Regions from separate parts of the Homo sapiens genome. Here all the other regions are linked to region 2. Evidence: promoter capture Hi-C in 16 types of primary human blood cells and fetal thymus (Javierre and others, 2016). All regions are on one chromosome and are shown on one strand. Each heading gives the region's core, a stretch centred on a gene start or on the middle of the fragment in contact. The rest is flanking DNA. Distances are from core to core; before and after follow the strand shown. Region 1 overlaps INPP5D (inositol polyphosphate-5-phosphatase D). Region 2 holds the start of KCNJ13 (potassium inwardly rectifying channel subfamily J member 13). Region 3 has its middle 14 kb from the start of ATG16L1. Region 4 overlaps ATG16L1 (autophagy related 16 like 1).

The links. Contacts are between HindIII fragments. The CHiCAGO score rates a contact against its expected background, and 5 or more counts as called.
Region 1: a contact is called between a fragment that was not itself captured here and the fragment with the promoter of KCNJ13 in region 2, in 4 of 17 cell types (naive B cells, total CD8 T cells, total B cells and 1 more). The highest score is 6.5, in naive B cells.
Region 3: a fragment that was not itself captured here is called in contact with the fragment with the promoter of KCNJ13 in region 2 in 6 of 17 cell types (endothelial precursors, total B cells, naive CD4 T cells and 3 more); the score reaches 6.3 in endothelial precursors.
Region 4: a fragment that was not itself captured here is called in contact with the fragment with the promoter of KCNJ13 in region 2 in 5 of 17 cell types (M2 macrophages, monocytes, M0 macrophages and 2 more); the score reaches 10.9 in M2 macrophages.

What each region holds. Positions count from the first base shown.
Region 1 is chr2:233,170,788-233,175,954 of GRCh38, reverse strand. It overlaps INPP5D (inositol polyphosphate-5-phosphatase D), which reads right to left. Exons shown (of 27, transcript NM_001017915.3): 17 at 4,803-4,891. Among named protein-coding and RNA genes, the nearest start is that of ATG16L1, 78 kb to the left of the region's middle. The HindIII fragment of the contact is 1,925 bases long and covers 452-2,376 here.
Region 2 is chr2:232,774,878-232,780,087 of GRCh38, reverse strand. KCNJ13 (potassium inwardly rectifying channel subfamily J member 13) reads left to right here and starts at 3,523. Exons shown (of 3, transcript NM_002242.4): 1 at 3,523-3,643. All of the region lies in intron 8 of GIGYF2 (GRB10 interacting GYF protein 2), which reads right to left. RefSeq lists a silencer at 1-69. The HindIII fragment of the contact is 5,243 bases long and covers 66-5,210 here.
Region 3 is chr2:233,235,144-233,240,160 of GRCh38, reverse strand. No RefSeq gene overlaps it. Among named protein-coding and RNA genes, the nearest start is that of ATG16L1, 14 kb to the left of the region's middle. The HindIII fragment of the contact is 1,046 bases long and covers 1,981-3,026 here.
Region 4 is chr2:233,276,060-233,281,589 of GRCh38, reverse strand. ATG16L1 (autophagy related 16 like 1) reads right to left here. Exons shown (of 18, transcript NM_030803.7): 10 at 3,917-4,022; 11 at 415-485. Among named protein-coding and RNA genes, the nearest start is that of ATG16L1, 27 kb to the right of the region's middle. The HindIII fragment of the contact is 474 bases long and covers 3,464-3,937 here.

The DNA of each region.
Region 1 (5,167 bases), core at 165-2,664, 400 kb before region 2:
ATCCCAGCACTTTGGGAGGCCAAGGCGGGTGGATCACCTGAGGTCGGGAGTTCGAGACCACCCTGACCAACATGGCGAAACCCCATCTCTGCTAAAAATACAAAATTACCCGGGCATGGTGGCGCATGCCTGTAATCCCAGCTACTCAGGAGGCTGAGGCAGGAGAATCGCTTGAACCCAGAAGGTGGAGGTTGTGGTGTGCTGAGATTGCGCCACTGCACTCCAGCCTGGGCAATAAGAGCAAAACTCCATCTCAAAAAAAAAAAAACAAAAGTTTTTATTTTCATTCTCTCTACTTCTGAACCATTCACTTTTTAAAAAAAACTTTAGGTACAACTTACATAAAGTGTACTAACCATAAGTGTACAGTCCCATGCATTTTTAGGTTTGTATAAACCCACTTACCCACTACCCAGAGCAAGATACAGAAAACCGCCATCATCCTAAAGCTTCCCTCATAAGCCTTCCTTGTCAATACCAGAGCCTCCTAAAGGTGAGCATTAGTGTGACTAACATCTCCATTGATTAATTTATATGAACGTATATAAATGGACTCACTCAGTAGATACTCTTTTATGTTGGACTCCTTCAGCCACTTCGTTGCTTATAAAAGTTCCATTGTTTATAAGTATCACATTTATCTACTCTACTGTTAATGGACATAGGGTTGTTTTCAGTTTTGAAGATTACAAACAAGGCTGCCATAAACATTCATTTTTTTTTTTTTTTTTTTTTTTGAGATGGAGTCTCGCCCTGTTGCTGAGGTTGGAGTGCAGTGGCATGGTCTCGGCTCACCACCATCTCCACCTCCCAGGTTCCAGTGATTCTCCTGCCTCAGCCTCCCGAGTAGCTGGGATTACAGGCGCCCATCAGCATGCCCGGCTAATTTTGTATAGAGACGGGTTTCGCGGTGTTGGCCAGACTGGTCTGGAACTCCTGACTTCAGGTGATTCACCTGCTTTGGCCTCCCAAAGCTCTGGGATTATAGGCGTGAGCCACCATGCCCGGCTAAACATTCTTATACCTATTTTTGGTGAACAAATATACAAATTTCTCTTGAACACACACCAAAGCGGAATTACTGAATCATAGAATAGGTGCATTTTTAGTTTTCATTGATTCTGCCTAACAGTTAGTTAAGTCCTTTTTTTTTTTTTTTTTTTGAGACAGGGTCTCACTCTGTTGCCCAGGCTGGAGTGCAGTGGGGCAATCTCAGCTCACTGCAACCTCTGTCTGCCGGATTCAAACAATTCTCCTGACTCAGCCTTCTGAGTAGCTGGGATCACAGGAGTGCGCCACCACACCTGGCTAATTTTTGTATTTTCAGTAGAGATGGGGTTTCGCCATGTTGGCCAGGCTGGTCTCAAACTCCTGGCCTCAAATGATTTACCTGCCTCAGCTCCCAAAGTGTTGGGAATACAGGCATGAGCCACTGTGCCCAGCCTAAACAGTTACTTCTTAACATTGCAGTTCTCGGCATCAGCTGCCTCTGAGAATTACCCGTGGGGCTCCACAAATAGTCATGTACCACAGTAATGGACTGCATATAGGACAGAGGTCCTACAAAATTATAATGGAGCTGGAAAATCCCCATCACGTAGTGCTGCTGTAGCTGTCATCACGTCACAGCGCAACACATTACTCACATGCTTCTGGGGATGCTGGTGCAAACCAGCCCACTGCACTGCCAGCTGTGTAAAAGCATAACAGTACAATTCTGTTCAGTACATAATATTTGATAATGATAAACAACTGTCACTCATTTCCGTGTTTACGATATTATTTATCATTAGAGTGTATTCCTACTTATAAGAAAATGTTAACTATAAAATAGCCTCAGGCAGGTCCTTCAGGAGGTAACCAGAAGAAGACATTGTCATCATAGGAGACGACAGCTCCATGTTATTGCCCCGAGGACCTTCCATGGGATGAGATGTGGAGGTGGGTGATAATGTCATTGACCATCCTGAGCCTGTTTCAGCCTAGGCTAATGTGTGCATTTATGGTTTTTGTTTTTGTTTTTTTTTTTGAGACGGAGCCTTGCTCCAGGCAGGAGTGCAGTGGCGCCATCTCGGTTCGCTGCAACCTCTGCTTCCAGGTTTCAAGCGATTCTCCTGTCTCAGTCTCCCAAGTAGCTGGGATTACAGGTGCACACCACTACGCCTAGCTAATTTTTGTATTTTTAGTAGAGACAAGAGTTTTGCCATGTTGGCCAGGCTGGTCTCGACCTCTTGACCTCAGGTGACTCACCCACCTCGGTCTCCCAAAATGCTGGGATTACAGGCATAAGCCACGGTGCCCAGCCTACGTCTTAATTTTCAACAAAAAAGTCAATGTAAATGAGAGTTTTGAAATTTTAAAACTTGAAAAAAAGCTTATAGATTAAGAATATAAAGAAATAAAATATTTCTGTACAGCTGTACAATGTGTTTGTATTTTAAGCTACATTTTATTACAAAAGCGTCAAAAATTAAATTGTTTATAAATAAAAAGCTTATAAATAAAAAATTACAGTAAGCTAAGGTTAGTTTATTATTGGAAAAAGAAAATTTAAAAAATAAATGTAGGGTAGCCTAAGTGTACAGTGTTTGTAAGGTCTACAGCAGTGCATAGTAATGTCCTAGGCCTTCGCACTCATTCACCACTCACTCACTGACTCACCCAGAGCAACTTCCAAGCCTGCAAGCTTCATTCATGGTAAGTGCCCTATACAGGTGTACCACCTTCTTTTTTTTTTTTTTTTTTTGAGACACAGTCTTGCTCTGTCACCCAGGCTGGCATGCAATGGCGCGATCTCGGCTCACTGCAACTTCCATCTCCCGGGTTCAAGCGATTCTCTTGCCTCAGCCTCCCGAGTAGCTGGGGTTACAGGCGTGTACCGCCATGCATGGCTAATTTTTGTATTTTTAGTAGAGACAAGGTTTCACCGTGTTGGCCAGGCTGGCCTTGAACTCCTAACCTCAAGTGATCCACCCACCTCGGCCTCCCAAAGTGCTGGGATTATAGGCATGAGCCGCTGCCCCCAGCCCATTTTTTTCTTTTTATACCATATTTTTACTGTACCTTTTTAATGTTTAGATACACAAAAACTTATTGTGTTACAGTTGCCCACAGTATTCAGTAAAGTAACATGCTATACGGGTTTGTAGCCTAGGATCAATAGGCCACACCATCTAACTGAAGTGGGCTTTGTGTATACACACTTCATGAGGTTCCCACAATGACGAAGTCACCTAATGACACGCTTCTCGGAACATATCCCCGTTGTTAAGCGACGCATCGCTATTTTCAGCTGCCTTCTGGGTATTTTCTCTGGGTTCTTCCACTGATGTCACACAATCAGTAAGTCTGAAAACAAGTTCTATTTTTTTCCCCTTCAAGCCAGCTCCGCCTTGTGATTTTCCAGTTTTTATCAATGGCAATCAGGTCTCGCAATATATCCTGATTTCCCCCTTTCTTTCATTTTCACTGTTTTTTCCCTGATTCGGCCCTAGCTGTTGCTCAGCTGAATGTGCACAACGGCCTCCTCACCGATGCCCCTGCCGCGTCCTCATCCTTTACCACAATGCCCACCACAATTCTGCACATGCCACTCTGATGCACCAGTGCCCGGCAGAGCTTGCAGTGGCCCCCTGTGGCCTGTCATCCTGGCATCTAGGACCGGCCACTCTCCCATCTCAGGCCCTCCTCTGCCTCAACTTAAACTCACATCAAAGCAAACCATCCTTCACCAGCCTGCACAGGGATCCCCAAGGACCTGCTCTGACAGTGCCTTTGGGCCAGGTGACCTTATCCACACAGCAGGCAGTGGACCCTGCGGAATGGGGTGTCCCATCCTGGGGGTCCCAGCCTCGTGGGTGACAGCAGTCCGGGATCTCCTCCTGTCCTCTCAGTTGTATTCTCTTCCTCTCCTGCTCTGTTCTAAAATCCACCCAGCGCTTGGCCTTCCTCTCCCACGTCCAGTTCTTCACTTTCTCCTGAGCCCAGATGGGGCCCAGAACTCTTTCAGATGACACTTTGAACTTGCGCTCCATTGCCCTAGGCTTCTAGTGGGCCTGGGTACCTCACCGTCCCAGCCATTTGACCCTTGAATCCTGCCAGGGGCTGGCTTCCCTGATCCTTCCCTGCCCTGGCATTGTCACATTCTGGCTCTGGCTACAGCTAGTTGCATATCTGTTTTTCCTACTGTGAAGTCCCTGGAAAAGACATCTTTGCTCTCCCATCACCTAGGAGAGTGCCTAACCCATAATAGGCCATCAGGAAATATCTTTGAACAAATGAATACATATTTTATTGCATCTTTCCCCAAAACACTGTTCCTTGGAAAACAAGTGGCCTCATAAGACATTAATTGGTGTTCCATGAATAACTGAGTTTGGCATACAGATTTCCTCATGGAGAACCACAGTGCTCTTGGGCCCATAAAAGCTCTGATAAGTCCTGCAGCGAAGAAACCTGCTTAATGTTAATTCACTCAGCAGTTTAGTAAATATATTTGATCACGGGACTTTAAAAAAATGATCTTCAGAACCCAGTTAAGGAAATAATACTTTAAAGTCCTCTCAGCATCTTAGAGTATCTGGACAGAAGGTAAATCACAAGGGTTATTTTCCCAGCTCAAAGCAGTGCACAAGTGTGGCTTCCCATTTACTCTGTAACACAAATCAACATGTGCTTTCTAATTTTTTTCTTTCCTTTTTTTTTTGCCTAATGGATGAAGACACTTTCTGTTCACCTTTTGGGAACAGACACCAGCGGGGAGGAGATGGAGGGCAGGGAAGGTGTCTATGAAGAGGACTCACCCCTGTCGCTTTCTGCTTGGTGTAGGCGTATTTGTCCCGAGTCAGTCTCTCAAAACGGTAGGTTGGGGCAAACGTGATTTCTTCCTCCTCTGAAACAGAGAGACTTTCGTTTTAATTCTGATTCCCCAGGTTTTGCATCTGGCCAATTTTCCCTATTCTTCTGGTAGGAAATCAGGGGAAAGGGGACGAAAGGATGGCTGGAAAGGCTCCAAGAGGAGAGGCTGCTGCTTTTTTTTTTTTTTTTTTTGAGACGGAGTCTGTCTTTGTTGGCCAGGCTGGAGTGCAGTGGCGCGATCTTGGCTCACTGCAAGCTCTGCCTCCCTGGTTCACACCATCCTCCTGCCTCAGCCTCCCAAGTAGCTGGG
Region 2 (5,210 bases), core at 2,274-4,773:
TACAAGTGCCCAATCTCCACAAGCTCCACAAGCAAAAGTGGAATTATGGGACAGACTTTGAAGCTTGTTTATGTGCAAATTTTTTAAGGAGTGACTTTGTATTACTCTGTTCAGATATATATTATCTGATCAACACCAAAAAAAAATCTAACACCAAAGAAAATGGTGAAAGGGCATCCCACTCAAGTGTTGATATTTACCACCCCTCTCCCCTACAATTACTTATAAACAAAACTCAGGGTGGCTAGGACAGAGCAGTTTAACTTCTGTACCCAGAGAGTTACGACTTTCTCCCTGAGGAATAAATAACCTGCTCAGCTGGTTAACAAGAGTCCTGAAAAAACAGCAGAGACTGGAGAAACTGCAGTGTATCAGAATCTCTGAAAAAGGTCCTCAGGCCATCTGAATATGTACCACAACCCTACAGCCCTCATGCTCAGCTGTCTGCTGGTACATACCCAGAGGCTGCCTGAAATCTGTGGGAAGGCAATTCGTAGTTGGCTTGGACATGTGGAAATGGAAAGAGACTAGGCATCTTCAAAAGAAAGCCAAGTACACTATGTAAGCAAGAACATGGAGACCAGAGCTAACGTTTTAAAGCTGTGAGATTACCTACTTACATAGGCCAGAAATCGCACTCCAACTGAAGATTTTACTGTTCTCAAGAAAAATGTGATACATTTATAGATATATAGTGAATTATTTCAGTCAGAAAGAAAATCAAATGCCTTTAGGGACAGAGGACTAGATTTAATACAGGATAATTAACCAGGTCTTGGTACCTTGTTTAATTTAATCATTATAATTTTGGAGACACAATCCATCAATCTATGAACAGGTATTTACCATTTATGTTCATTCACCGAAGAAATGTTTTAGAGCCATCTCCAATTACCTTACTGTGAAACAGCTACAACAGAAATAACAAATTGTCTAGATGGGAAGGACCATGAGTTTCTGGGTGAAGGTGGCATATCATCTGTGCCAATATCCGTGTCATCTCAGTGAAGGAGCCCCAGGAAACACCACCCCAAAATATACTGCTTTGGTATGCTCATTACTGCAAACTGAGAGAACTTAGGGAACAGCAAGCACAGGGAGGGGCCTTCTCTGATGCCCCCTTATCTCAAAAAATTCCTTTGTCCCCTCCCTAGAATTTCATCAATCAGGGAAGATTAACCTTATCACATAAGAGATTAAAAGGTCTAGTAGCGTTCTTCCTCAAGTTAATTTTCAATACCTGAAAGACTTTATCTCAATAACTAGACAACTTTTGTTCATCATACATTTCCTCCCCTCATTTTCCCACAGCTTGTCAATACCTTCCCCCAGGACCTCCACATCCCTATTCCAATGCTATAAGAACTTCAATCATCTGGTCCTTCCTCAAGTCTCATGTTTTGTGGGACTCTTGTGCATAAGGATGTAAACTGTTTTTCTTCTGTTAAGTCTACCTACTGTTGCTTTATATTATAGACTCAATTATCAAACCTTCAAAAGGAAGAGAGAAGGTCTTCTCTCTCCCCTACACCAGCTAACCTGGTAACTTCAACCAGAAATGACTTTAAATGCTCAGGCTATTGTAATGGGAGAGCTATGCTCCTAAGTGGGCACTTCAGAGCTGGTCTACAATATTCACAGCAGTAGGAATCACTGTTTATAGACCATAGCAAGACTTTCAAATTGTAGAGATCCAGAAATTAGCTTCACTTAAGACATTTCTTTCTTAATTGAAGATCATTTTGCCAAATCATTTTTGTCTCAATATATTGAAACCAAGTATACTATGGAAAAAGACTTTTAAGTTTAATAAAATCCTTAACTGTCTTGCCTACTATAATATGTATTCTCAGGCCAGGTGAAGTGGCTCATGCCTGTAATCCCAGGAATTTGGGAGGCTGAATTGAGAGGACAGCTTGAGCCCAGGAGTTCAAGACCAGCCTAGACAACACAGCAAGACCCTGCCTCTACAAAAAATAAAAAATTAGCCAGATGTGGTGGCATTACTGCAGGGGGTGGGGGATGAGGTGGGAGGATCACTTGAGCCTGGGAGGTCGAGGCTGCAGTGAGCTGTGATCACACCACTGCACTCCAGCCTGGGTGACACAGCAAGACTCTATGTCTAAAAAAAATGAAAATAAAAAATATACAATGTATATTCAAAACACATGACAGATACACTCAAGTGCTTCTGCTTTCTAGAAGCAGTATTATACTATACTTGTTCTAGTATTTTGTTGTTGTGTTGTTCTGTTTTTCTGCAATTTGTTAGCTGGGAATTGATACACATTATAATTCCTACCAGTACATGCAGGGAATGAGCATCACACCACAAATCCTTCTTTATACTTTACCTTCCCTAGTTCTGAAGGTCAGTGTTTCTAATGCTGTGTCTGAACTTGTGTTGAAGTATTTGGTACTAATAAAACAAAGAAGGAATTAATATATTTTTTAAATTGTGGGGCGGGGGGGGGACGGAGAGGATTCTACAAAGGCGGATTTCACTTTCTAAGTAGCATTATATTGGTCTACATTAATAATTTTCCCAGCAGGCCTTCCAAGATTTTACTTTGAACAATCACAGTCTTTGTTTCTCAGATCCTCTTACATGTGACATTTGGTCAAAGTTTTAAAATCAGCAGCTAACGGAGGAGGAGAAAAGTACTGTTCACTAAGGCACTGCACAAAGCCATACCACAGCACGTTTCAGGGTTCCAACAAGCTGGATCACATTTTCCAGCTAAACACTATTTCAATGTTGTGTTACATTTTCTGTACACTGTACACTATGTTTTATTAACACTATACTTCATCACACTGATCAGGAAAACATCTTCTAAACATCATTAAAATAAGCCTTAAGAAAATTCTTCGGTTCTTTCCCACAGGTGTGCATTTTTTAAAGTATCAGGTACAGAACAATTAATTTTATTCCTATTCAAGGTCTTTGTATACAGCCTTTAAAAAAAAAAAGTTTGTTTCCTAACCAAAAAAATAAAAGATTTCACGTAATTATCTATATTACTAGTTCTGGAACTAATGGTAGCCATTCTGATGAGACATGAGAAGAAAACTAAGAAAATCAATGCATTAATTTATGCCTATAAGTCCTTATCCAAATAAATCTTCCCCAAAGACATGGTGGAAAAAAAAAAAGATTAGTAAAGGAAATATCTCACACTTCAACATGCTATATAAGGAAAGACGGCTGAAAAATCTTGCAGGGAATTTTATCCCTTTGAACTTTCAAAAAAACTCTTAAGTAAGATTATGCAAACTTACTAAAGACCGGTCCTGATTAGAGGGAAAAAATGCACCCCTTCTCCAAGTCAGTTCTGGAGGCTTTCTCCAGAGTTGTTAAGGTTTGTGTTGGGTAAAGAAAGACCTCCTAACAAACCAGCATTCTTTTCCACATGATCAGAGCTAATTGGCCCCCCTGCAGGCTAAGTGACCAATCACATCAACCTCAGCTGAAACCAGCCCCCACAACATTATAAACAGAGGAATGTAAGCTGTAAAACCAGTCCAAGAAGAGAACCTACAAACTAGACTTGTAGATTAAAATTATCTGATCAAAAAGGCAGACTCTGTAAATTTCCTTAAGACCTACCTTGGCATAAAGGCTGACCCAGCAAAAGAACTGGTGAGTACATGCAATAATATCCATTCTTCTTTCCTTATGGGAAACAGGGAAAGAAACTGACTGGCAAATAGCAACAGAGCTAGATTACTTCCAACAGATTTTTAAAACAAAGACATTATCTATAGTGTAGGATAGTAAGGTTTCTATATTCTTTTCCCTTAAATCTTAAAAATGCAATAACAGCCATATTGAATGTATTACTGGAAATTTTCTTAACTGTTTTATTAAATGTATACTAATTTTCTATTACAATATATCAGTAGAGGATAAAGGCCTTAGGAAAAAAAATTCAGTGGCTTGAGGAAAAAAAAAGTCTTTTTCTTTTGGAAGGAATTTCAAAAACCCAAAATGAGCATAAAAAAACAAATGCCAAAAGAATAAGCCACTTTGTTTTTACTTCTGTAATCTAAGAAGAAAGTGATGAGTATCCTAATCGTAAATTTTTAAGCATGGAATTATTGCGGAAATTAATAGATACTTCTGCAACTGAGAAATTAAAATAGAATCTCTGAGCTTATATAACAGGGTTAGAACTCAATAGTGTTTGCCCTAATTGTGGAGGGCAGGAGAAATCATTATAAGACTTTCAATATAGTCTTAAAGTATTTACACCAGACATGAACAAATACATAGTAATGCCATCTTCATTTAATGTTTGTTAGTTATAGCCTTTATCTTAACTCCTCAGTATGAACTATACTATTTTTTATCATGGCAACAGAAAATACATACTTTTAAGTGCTACAACCCAATGAGTAGAATGAATTCTGATGATCAGTGAAGCTGCCTATCATTTTTTAATAGGTACTATTTTTCCTCCAAATAATTTATAAATGGGCAAATATTTTACAGCCCACACACAGCAATAGAAGCAAACCTTCCCAACCTTCCACCTCACTTTCTATTGGGATCAGCTGATGAGACTTAAATATCAGGTAACAATAGTATAATTTTTTAAACCATACGAGCAGACATCAAACTATACAGAAATAAAAGAAATCATATAGGAAACTTGTATCCTTTGTAGGAAGTGGAAATATGTTTGTTTACATAAGTCTGTAGAGCTTTAAGAAATCTTATTATCATAATTCCCTCTTTTTTCACTTTCTTTGTTTTAATCTAAGGATGCCAGGCCAATGGGATTGAGTGGTTTGCCCAAAATGACACAGCTATGTAACCAACAGTGCTAGAGCCTGAAGGCCATATCCCCTTATCCTGCGTTCTCTACACTAAACCACACTGACTATAAGAGTCCACAGAATAGTTATTCAGGGTAATTGGTTAAGTGGGAATCAGAAATCAATCTTCCTTCTCTATATTACTCCACTTGCCAACACAATCCAAACCAAATCCAGCAGTCTTAGGTTAAAAAAAAAAAAATGCTGCTTAACTGTTCCGATTATCAGCCTTTTGACTTCCCTGTTCACAGGTTTTTCCATGTATTTAGTTGCAAGAGAAAAAAAATACAATTGTAAAGAGCCTAGAGTAAGAGTGCTACAAAAGTTGTAGGTAAGAAGTAACAACAGTCCTGAAAAAGCCCAAATGAGAATGATGAATTTTGTTAGCT
Region 3 (5,017 bases), core at 1,254-3,753, 460 kb before region 2:
CTTAGGGATGGTGTCATCCTCAGGCTGATGGAAAATGCCCAGGGCAGCTCCAGAAAACTTATTCAAATCCGAGCATGACCTGAGGAAGAAGACTCTCTCTTAGGAATGTGAAAACTTCCCCAGAAGCCCAGCAGACATCCCCCTTATATCTCATTGACCAAAACAGGGTCACATGCTCATTCTTGGCAAGGGGAAGGCATCACCTTTAGACCCATCTTGTTCACCCTCAGGCTGGAGGGTGAGGCTGGCTGCCCCAGAGGCCTGTGGCTGAGTGGGAAAGGGGTATCCATGGTAGTTCCTCTCCAAAGCTCCCCTTACTCCCAGTCTGCCACACCATGCCTCCTGGTAATCCCTGGACTGAGTCTGGGCTGCTTCTATGTAACTAATAAAATGCGGAGGAAGCGTCTTTGCACAAGGTTCAAAACTGGGTTACAAGAAGCCTTGCAGCTCCTTCTCAGTCTCTTGGAATGCTTGCTCTGTGATAAACCAGCCAGCATCTACAGAGCCCGACTGCAGGGAGGCCACCATGCTGTGAGGAAGCCCAAGATAGTCATGTGGAGAGGCTGTGTGGAGAGCCAGCAAGTGAGTGAGAGAGAGAGAGAGAGCAAGAAGAGAGAGAAAGACACACACACACACACACACACACACACACACACACACACGACACGGGATGGGGGGAGGGAGAGAAAGAGAGAGAGTTACCGAGATACCGAGATACTGAGCCAGTTTCCACTGTTCTGGACTCGTGAATGAAGAGGCCACCCGGGATGTCCAGCTCAGTGGAGGCTTCTGATGACCCCAGCCCCAGCTGCCATCTGACTGCAACCACATGAGAAACCCCAAGCAAGAACCACCCTTCTGAGCCCAGTCAGCCACGGAATTGTGAGACAGGATAATGAATTGTTGTTTTCAGTTTTGGGGATGGTTCGTGATGCAGCAATAGATAACCAGAATAATATCTAAAGGAAACTGGGTCTCTCTCAGGAAGGAAGAAGCAGGAAATGGCTGCTGGGTAGGCTATCAATGGTGTGTCCCCTTTACCCTGTTGGGAGTGTGCACAGAACACCACGTTATCCTCAGAAGACATCTGATGAGCGTAGAGCCAAAGCAAGGCAAATGTCTGCAGGTGGGATCACTTTACATTGTCACAGTGGGATCCATTTTCCCCACCATATGAAGGAAACTAGTTATTGTCAGAAGAGACCATTGGGATGAAAAGTGTGTATCTTCGAAACCACTAAAGAAAAACTCACACTTTGGGAGGCCGAGGCGGGTGGATCATGAGGTCAGGAGATCAAGACCATCCTGGCTAACAAGGTGAAACCCTGTCTCTACTAAAAATACAAAAAATTAGCCGGGCGCGGTGGCGGGCGCCTGTAGTCCCAGCTACTCGGGAGGCTGAGGCAGGAGAATGGCGTGAACCCGGGAAGCGAAGCTTGCAGTGAGCCGAGATTGCACCACTGCAGTCCGCAGTCCGGCCTGGGCGACAGAGCGAGACTCCGTCTCAAAAAAAAAAAAAAGAAAAAAAGAAAGAAAAACTCAGTCTGTACCTTCTATAATAATAATTAGTAATGCCAGTAACAGCAGGTAACATTTATTGAATGTATACAGTGTGTGAGGCTAAATGCTTTACAATTGTTCTCTTCTCAGTTTTCACAACAGCATAGTCGTGTTGGTGCTATTGCTGGCTCTACTTCACAAAGACAATGTAGCCTGGGTTCTGGGTTCAAATTCTGATGCTAGCACTTATCACCTCTGATATCTTAGGCAAGTTGCTTAAACTCTGTGCCCCAGGATTAAATGAATTAATACTGACAACGGTGTCTTGCACACAGTAAGTGCTTTATAGGTATGGCCATTATTATTATTTCAGAGGAAGAAAGTGAGGCTCAGGGAGACAGGTAACTTGTCCAGGTGCACATGATGGGTAAGAGGTAGGCAGATTCCAACCCAGCCTGTGGACTCCATAGCCTGCAAGCTTACCAATCTGTGCCTTCCTTCTCCTGCCTCATAAAAAAGAGCCTGTGTGTTGACCTTGAACTTGTATCTCTCAGATCTCCTGCTGGGGGAAATACAATCACCTGACAGCCCTTGATGCTGTGCTCTAAATCCACCACCACATTCAAGCTGTGTCCACATTTCTTACCACTGCTCCCAACCAATGACGAAGCACAGCAGGGCTGCTAAGGCAGAATGACTCCTGTGACACGTGGGACTCCTCTGATGAACTTTGCCTCAAGGATGCTGCTATGGACCGAATGTTTGTGCCCCTGCCCCAAATTCATATCTTGAAGCCATAATCCCCAGTGTGATGGTATTTGGAAGTGGGACCTTTGGGAGGTGCTTAGGTCACAAGGGAAGAGCCCCCATGAATGGGATCAGCACCCATTCATGAGGTGAGGACCTTATAAAAGAGGCCCCAGAGAGCTGCCTTGCTCCTCCTACCATGTGAGGACACAGTGAGAAGTCTACTATCTGCAAACCAGGAAGAAGGTTCTCACCAGATACTGGATCTGCCAGCACCTTGACCTTGGACTTCCCAGGCTCCAGAACTGTGGAAAATACATTTCTGTTGTTTATAAGCCACCCAGTATATGGTATCTTATTATAGTAGACTGAACTGACTTAGACAGATGTCTATCAACCCTGCCCAAACTTTGTTAGAATGTGCGGCAGGCTGAGAGTCTTCCTACCTCACCTTCCTTCCCTCTCTCCTTCACCAGGGTCAGACCTGCATCATGGCCTGACAGCTCTCCCAGCCTCCTCCTGTAATCTCCCCATCTTCCTGCACAGACACTTCCTTCAATAAATCTCTCATGTCTAACCCTGCCCTAGAACGTACTTCTCTGAGAACCAGAGAGGTTTGGATGAAACCCAAGTAATAGAAGAAAGTGGGAATGAAAGGAGCTGCCACCAACACTGCTGTTGATGTTTTGGAGGTCCTGACCCTTGCCAAGTCCACTTGTCTTTCTCTCTAATCAAGTCATGTGCCTGGGTGGCTGTGTTTCTATCCCATGACTGAAGCTTTCCGGCCAAGAACTTTTTGGACCAGCCGTGGACACCTAACTGGGCCTAAATCCTCTCTTAAGGGAGAGTGAGGAGCCGGGCCTCTGGGTCTGGAGCAGTCAAGGGCTGAGTCAGCACCATGGCAAGACAAAGCCAAGGAGAACCAGGAATAGGCAGAGGACGCTGGGCAGAGAAAGAAACAGGTGAGCAGAAGGAAACGTCCAGAGAGGACCAGGGCCCAGAGAAGAGCCACCCTCTGCCTGACAACCTTGTTCCCAGCTCCATGTGGCTGAGGCCTGGCTAGCTAGACTCTTCATCAGTGCTCCTTTTTTTTTTTTTTTTTTTTTTTTTTTGAGGCAGAGTCTTGCTCTGTCGCCCAGGCTGGAATGCAATGGCACGATCTTGGCTCACCACAACCTCCGCCTTCCAGGGTCAAGTGATTCTCCTGCCTCGGCCTCCCGAGTAGCTGGGATTACAGGCATGTGCCACCACACCTGGCTAATTTTTATATTTTTAGTAGAGACAGGGTTTCACCATGTTGGCCAGGCTGGTCTCAAACTCCTGACCTCAAGTGATTCACCCGCCTCAGCCTCTCAAAATGCTGGGATTACAGCGTGAGCCACTCTGCCTGGCTGAGCTCTCCTTAGGGTTAGGTTACTCTGTCTCTGCTTGGAGCTAGTTTCTCTTCCCCATAAGCAGAAAGCCTTGACTGAAATGGAAATTTAGAATTTTAGAGCAGGAAGACCCCTTAGACATCATTTTATGGCAAAGACGCAAAAGCAGGACATTTCCACCCTCTCCTGCTGCCTTTACCAAGATCTGAGGACGGGAACTCCTGTGTGTCCTGGGAAGAGGCCCGAGAGCTGCTCCCCGAGTCCTAGGTGGGAGCGGGAGAAGGGCCCCTAGCAGGAGGAGGGCGGCCTTGCAGAGCCCTTCTCGGGTCCTGGTGGATGACACTGCAGTGTGAGGGATCCGCCCACCCTCTCTGCCACCCCTGGCGGTGGCCTCTCATGCCACAGCTGGGAGGGCAGGTCTCCTGCATCCAGGCCTAGGATGGAATCTTCTCCAATCCTCCCAACAATCTTGCCTCCCCATGGGATGTGATTTCACAGCTTCTCCAAGGTTGATGGGTGGGAATTTGCTTTACCTTTGGGTAACTAGAAAGCCCGTTTCTGTTAACTTTCCCAGAGTAAATAAAGTCAGCTCCAAAGAGGCCACCTCCAGAAACGGAAAGCTATTAGCAACCTTCTAAGCAGCTTTCCCGCTAAAAATTAAAAAGGAAAAACCTAAATCCCATTTGGGGTGAGCCCTTGTTTTACAGGTAGAAGTTATTATTTTTTTATTTTTCATTTTTATTTATTTATCTATTTATGAGACAGAGTCTCGCTCTGTTGCCTAGGCTGGAATGCAGTGGTGCGATCTCGGCTCACTGCAACCCCCATCTCCTGGGTTCAGGCAATTCTCATGCCTCAGCCTCCCGAGTAGCTAGGATTACAGGCACACACCACCACTCCCGGCTAATTTTTTTTTTGTATTTTTAGTAGAGATGGGGTTTCACCATGTTGGTCAGGCTGGTCTCGAACTCCTGACCTCAGGTAATCTGCCTACCTCGGCCTCTCAAAGTGCTGGGATTATAGGCGTGAGCGTGTGAGCCACTGCACCCGGCCAGTTTTTTTTTTTTTTTTTTTAACGAGTGAATATCTTACCTGAAAAATATTCGTAAATGTGGGTTTTATTCTAGTTGAGGTAGAAAAAAACACTGTACTTTGTCCTGATTTTTAGTGAGTGAAGTTCAAGGAGAAAAAGTAACAAGAGAATTCAGAGAATTTTGAAAATGATTGTTTTGAATGTTGAGTTTTTGAATTTGGGAAATAAGATAGCTGTTACCATGGCTTTATGTTAACAGCTAAAGAATCCAGCAAGGAGTAAATGATGGCCCTGCATCCCCAGGCACAGGGGAAATTTTTGGAACATGAAAATATGAGTTTTAGAAACATGATTCAACTGTCAA
Region 4 (5,530 bases), core at 2,451-4,950, 500 kb before region 2:
CTCTCTCATCAGTATTTCCTTTCTACTCCACACACATCTCAGCCATAACTCAGCACAACGCTTTGCAGTTTAATGCTTTCCCATCACTCTCATTTAGATGGCGAATCTCGGAGGGTAGAGACCACGCTGGCCCCTGGAGTACAGCATCTATACACTCAAAATACAACTATTAAGTGAAATTATACAAAGTACTGAGTAACATCACAAGCCTAATGCATGAAGCAGAACCCAAGGGTTTATCAGAGTTGATACAGCAATTAACCCTATAATCTATTTCCATCTTTCTTTAACATGGATTTGGCTTAAGATACAGAGAATGGCAGAGAAATCGGGTAAGTTATGTTATAATTTCAAGAACCTAATGTCTTAAATTATTTCTAAAAACCTTTAAAATCATAGCTATTCAATACTTACAGCACTATCAAATTCAATGCTTGTAATTCCTGCATTACTGCCAGATAGGGAACCCTTGAACTCACATTTTTCTGTATAAAAAGAAAAAATTAGGATGATGGGAAGTTAAATAAAGCCAATAAATACATTAAAACAGGGCACTGAAATACAATGGAAGCCAATTACACTGCTAAAACAATAGCTATCCTGTACCTTTACAGAATCAAACAAAATAGCAGGACAAAGAGAACATGAGAGATAAAAGATACTGCTAGTTTCTAAGAGGAATGCAAGTCTAAGTGGACACTGACCCCAGCATCTTGGATGTGTGTTCTGTTCTTTAAGAAATGTAGTTATTCATTCTCTTTAGAAAAACAAAGTGTAGGAATTTATAAACCATGTCAATCAAACTAGAGACTGGGTTTATTCAGTTCCACTATTTCTCAGTACATTTTAAAAACTTACATACATAAATATTTGGGTTGATCAGCATTTGTGCCAACTTAACTACCACTTTTGTAGAAACTGGCAGTCAATTTCTGGACCCATGGTGTGGTAATTTTCATTAAGGTGTGAAAAGAAATTGTGTTAGTTACATTTAAATGACTACTCATATAGAATACCAGTCAAGCTAGTTTGGAGTTTCTGGAATTTGCCCTCATACTTTATCTCCATGAATCTAAGATCCTGGCAAGCGAACTAAGTGCCAGCACCTCCCATCCCTCTACACAGCTCTCCCTCACCAACAGAGCCACTGTCCACTTTATCTACTCTGCTTCCAGACAGCCTGGCCACCCACACGGAAATTTCAGTAACGGGCAATCCCAAACTGAGAAGAGCAAAAATCTCAATGATTTGATTAAATTCCTTTTAAAAGGGTAACTTAAGGATGATCCACACAGATAAGCTAGAAATTAAGGAACCATTGTAATCATATTTGTAAAAGAGGAACACAGAACAGAAAACATTTCAACACATTTTTATCTTATTCAGTACTTCTAAGTAGTAAAAATAATGATTGGAGCCAGATATCAAGGTGACACGAATACTGGTTTGAAGCTGTCATGTACATTCAGGCCACAGACTGTTAACCTGGTTGATGAACCTCTCCTCTGAACTCACTTGCAAAATACAGCATATTTAATGGCTTTTTCTGGATCCTAGCTTTCTTAAGATTTTCAAAAGGGTTGAAAAAGGCTAATATTCGCTAAGATTTTCCTTTAGATGAAATCTTCACAGATAAAAATATTACTGCAAATTCTAAGAAATATCTCTTTGGCTTATGCTTAAAATACTGGTCTATTTGCTTGGCACTTAACACAGTGCCGAAATGTAGGAAGTGACCAAAAAATTAATGCTATTCAATATGAGAGATTGATCTCAAAAGAACAAAGACCGTATTAAAACTCTTAATTATCTACAAGATACGGGGTTGGGGGCGGGGGGTGCTATGTCAACAGCATTTGTATAATTCCCAGTGGAACTTCTGCTTTGGAGAAAATGAGCAAAAACAGATGTTCCCACTGGGTAGAAAGTGTGATTCTTCTGATAATCTAAAAGGATGAAAAAACAGGACCCCCAAACTATTTCAGAAAAGGTCTCTTGAACTTGGCCTCTTCCAAGATTCAGTAAATAAATATTTGCCAAGACGAAAAATCTTGTAGACTGAAACAGCTGTTTGTAGAAGAAAGGCCCTACACAAAACTGTAAGAAATGCCGCCACACATTCTGCTATTTCTGTAGATTAGGTAGAAACTTGATTTTATTAACACAAATTATGTGCTGGCACAGATTATGTCAGTATTAACTTCAACTGATGTTCGTTTCTTTTCAGCCGCAAAAAGGTTACTAGAATTAAAGGTTGGTACCTCTAATTTTCTTATAGGTGTTTTTACTGACCAAGGAGTAAAACGAAAATATTTCTAGTGTTATTTTTATTTAAATCTCAATGGCATACTCAAAACAGACTGTTTACTTTGATTTTGCAAATCAAATTCCCTAAAATTTCCTTTTTTAAAAGACACAGGGTCTTGCTCTGCTGCCCATGCTGGAGTGCAGTGATGCGATCAGAGCTCACAGCAGCCTCTCACTCCTGGGCTCAATTGATCTTCCCACTTCAGCTTCCCAGGAAGCTGGGACTGCAAGTGCATGCCAACACACCCAGCTACTTTTTAATATTTTTTTTGTAGAGGCAGGGTCTCATTTTGTTGCCCAGGCTGGTCTTGAACTCCTGGCCTCAAGCAATCCTCTTGCCCCAGCCTCACAAAGTGAAAATTTCTTATGATTTGTTTTTATTATTGTTTTCTAATTGCTTCAGCCATTATCATTCATAAGCTAAATGTTTCTGGGCAAAATAGTAAATTTTAGTATGCTTCAATGGGCTCTAACTGCTGAGTCCCTTTCCTGAAAATCAAAGGCCGGGGCAGATAGGAGGGGTGCTTTACTAATAACCTATTCTAATAAGTTGCTCCTGCTCTGATAAACCTTAAAAGCAGTACCCCTAAGATTTTTCAGTTGCTAGAGAAGGCTACAGTAAGAGCATGGAATTTCAGGTCTTCTGGCCTGCATTAGTCCTAGTTCCACCACTCCCTCACCACAGAAATCATTCACTAGCCATGTAAATCACGTAGTATCTGAGTTTTATTCCCTTTATCTGTGAAATGGCGCAATCTCTACCATTCTAACCACACAGGGCTGTTGTGATGATCAGGGGAATTAACAGACAAAATCACTTTGGAGCTATTTATTGCTCGACAGGGATAATGTGTGTGTCGCAGCTACAGACACTTGGCAAAGTGGTTCCCGTTAAAAACCTTAAGCCTTATTCTTCGGCCTTACTTTAGTAAAAATACACGCATATTTAACTGAATCTCGAAAACGTCAAAACTGGGAAATGCCCGGCTTCAGACTTCTAAGAGATGGTTTCATTAACTTCCATTTTCTGTTTTAATGCCATCCATCTCTGAGCATCCTAAAAGTCCAAAGAGACTGAGTCTTGATCTAAGGGCCCTCGTCTGATACACTGTTAAATACATCTTTTCTAGGTAGTACGCCTCTGTTTCCTCAAGCTTAGACATGACTCCAGTCATTTTTTCCCTAGGCTATTGCAATTGTCATTAAATGCATCAACCACAGCTTAATGTATAGTTTAATTGTAGAATCCATGATCATAAGACTTATTTTCCTCATAAAAACGGTACTATTTTGCAAGATGCTCTGATTGGTATATACTTGAGAAAAACTACAGAAACCTTACTAACATAAACATATCCATAACTTAACAGTATTTTCTGATCACTACTTAGAAAATGAGAGCAAACATCCACTCGGAAGTAAAGAATAACTGAGATGTATGATGCTTTGGTCAAACGATCCCTTACATAAAATGTATGTTTTGAGAAAATGAACAATTCACAGTGCCTGAAAGCAAGGTCAACCAGATGCCAGCAACACAGCTTCTTTCTGCAGTGCAAGGGTGCATCATCTCAAGTTTTCAGTCTGAGAACATGCAGCAGGCTCTCACCTCCAAATACTTCCCAAAGCTTAACCCTGCGGTCCATGCCTCCAGTGGCCAGTAACCGGGAACCTGGACTGAACTGCACAGCGTTGACTTCCCCATCATGTGCATCCTGCAAGACAAGCACCCTGTGTCAAACCCAGTCATTCTCATCCCAAGAGCTCAAGATGCGCGAACACTCCAAATGCCTAATTCATGGGGAAACACTCATCCTTAAAGACAGGTGGAGCCAATCATAAACTAAACTGGACTCCTAGCCCAGGTCAACTAAGATTCTATTATCATTTTATTCTTCTAGTTACAGTTGCATTAGAGTGCAGTGCAACCTTCTCAAAAAGTACTCAAAATCTGTGTAGACTGCTTAAAGTTGGTCCTTGCATTAATTTCATCTGTTCTAACAATAATGGCCTATATTTATCTTAATAGTTTAAAAGTAAACCTAGAATTAATTTTGGTCCAGACTGAGTTAATACTACTTATTGATCTACTAGTAATTACTAATTTACTAATAATATTAAATACTACATATTTAAATAATGTATAGCACATGGCCTCTCATAATACAGCTTTCGCAATGAGTCCTAATATAAGTAGATGGCAAAAACATCAATCTGTGTTATAATGGAATTCTATGTAGTTCTTTCTGGAAACATTATGGGACTAGTGTGTACTGGCAGTGTGACCTCTGCCAAGTTTCTGAAATCTCAGTTTGCTCAGCTCCAGAAAGGTTTTTGCAACCCAGAATGGTGCCTGTTAATGCATAAGCCTTAGATAAAAATGACAGTCGTTATTTTAAGAGAATTTATATTCTTCACAGGGAAATTTCTAATACTGGCATAAACACTGGCAAAAGATGGTACTTATGTTCAGGATAAGAAAGAAAACCAAGTAAAAAAGCATCCTGGCTGGGTGCAGTGGCACACATCTGTGATCCCAGCACTTCGGGAGACCGAGGTGGGCAGATCGCATGAGCTCAGGAGTTCAAGACCAGCCTGGGCAACGTGGCGAAACCTCGTCTCTTAAAAACTAAAAAACAAAAATTAGCCAGGTGTGGTAGCGCATACCTATTGTTCCAGCTACTCAAGAGGCTGAGGTGGGAGGATTGCTTCAGCCCAAGGTTGAGACTGCACTGAGCTGAGATTGTGCTACTGTACTCCCGCCTGGATAACAGAGTGAGACTCAGCATCCCATTCTAGAATGGGAAAAGGGAATAATCGAAAAATTCACTATACTCTCTTAAGAAGATTATGGGCAGTAAAATATTTTTGGATGAAATATAATGCCTAGAATTGGCTTCAAATTGCTCCAGCATAAGTGTGGGGGGGAAGAGATACTGCGTATGTTTGGAAATTTCTATAATAGAGAAGGAAAAGAAAGACTAGAAAACATAGACTATCAATATGAGATTGTTAAGTAGATAATCACTTGTCTAAAAGGTCACTTGGGGAAGAGAATATGTGATATTTACATTTGCTTGGGACTAAAAAAAAATAAAATGCTTGAAGTATCACGGAGGGAGTGACTATTAACAGGCTGGGCAACAGGCATCACTTTGGTAACTTCATTTTCCACTTTGCCTCCCTCTTGTGACCCACTGCTGAAAAGTATGACAGGTGACCA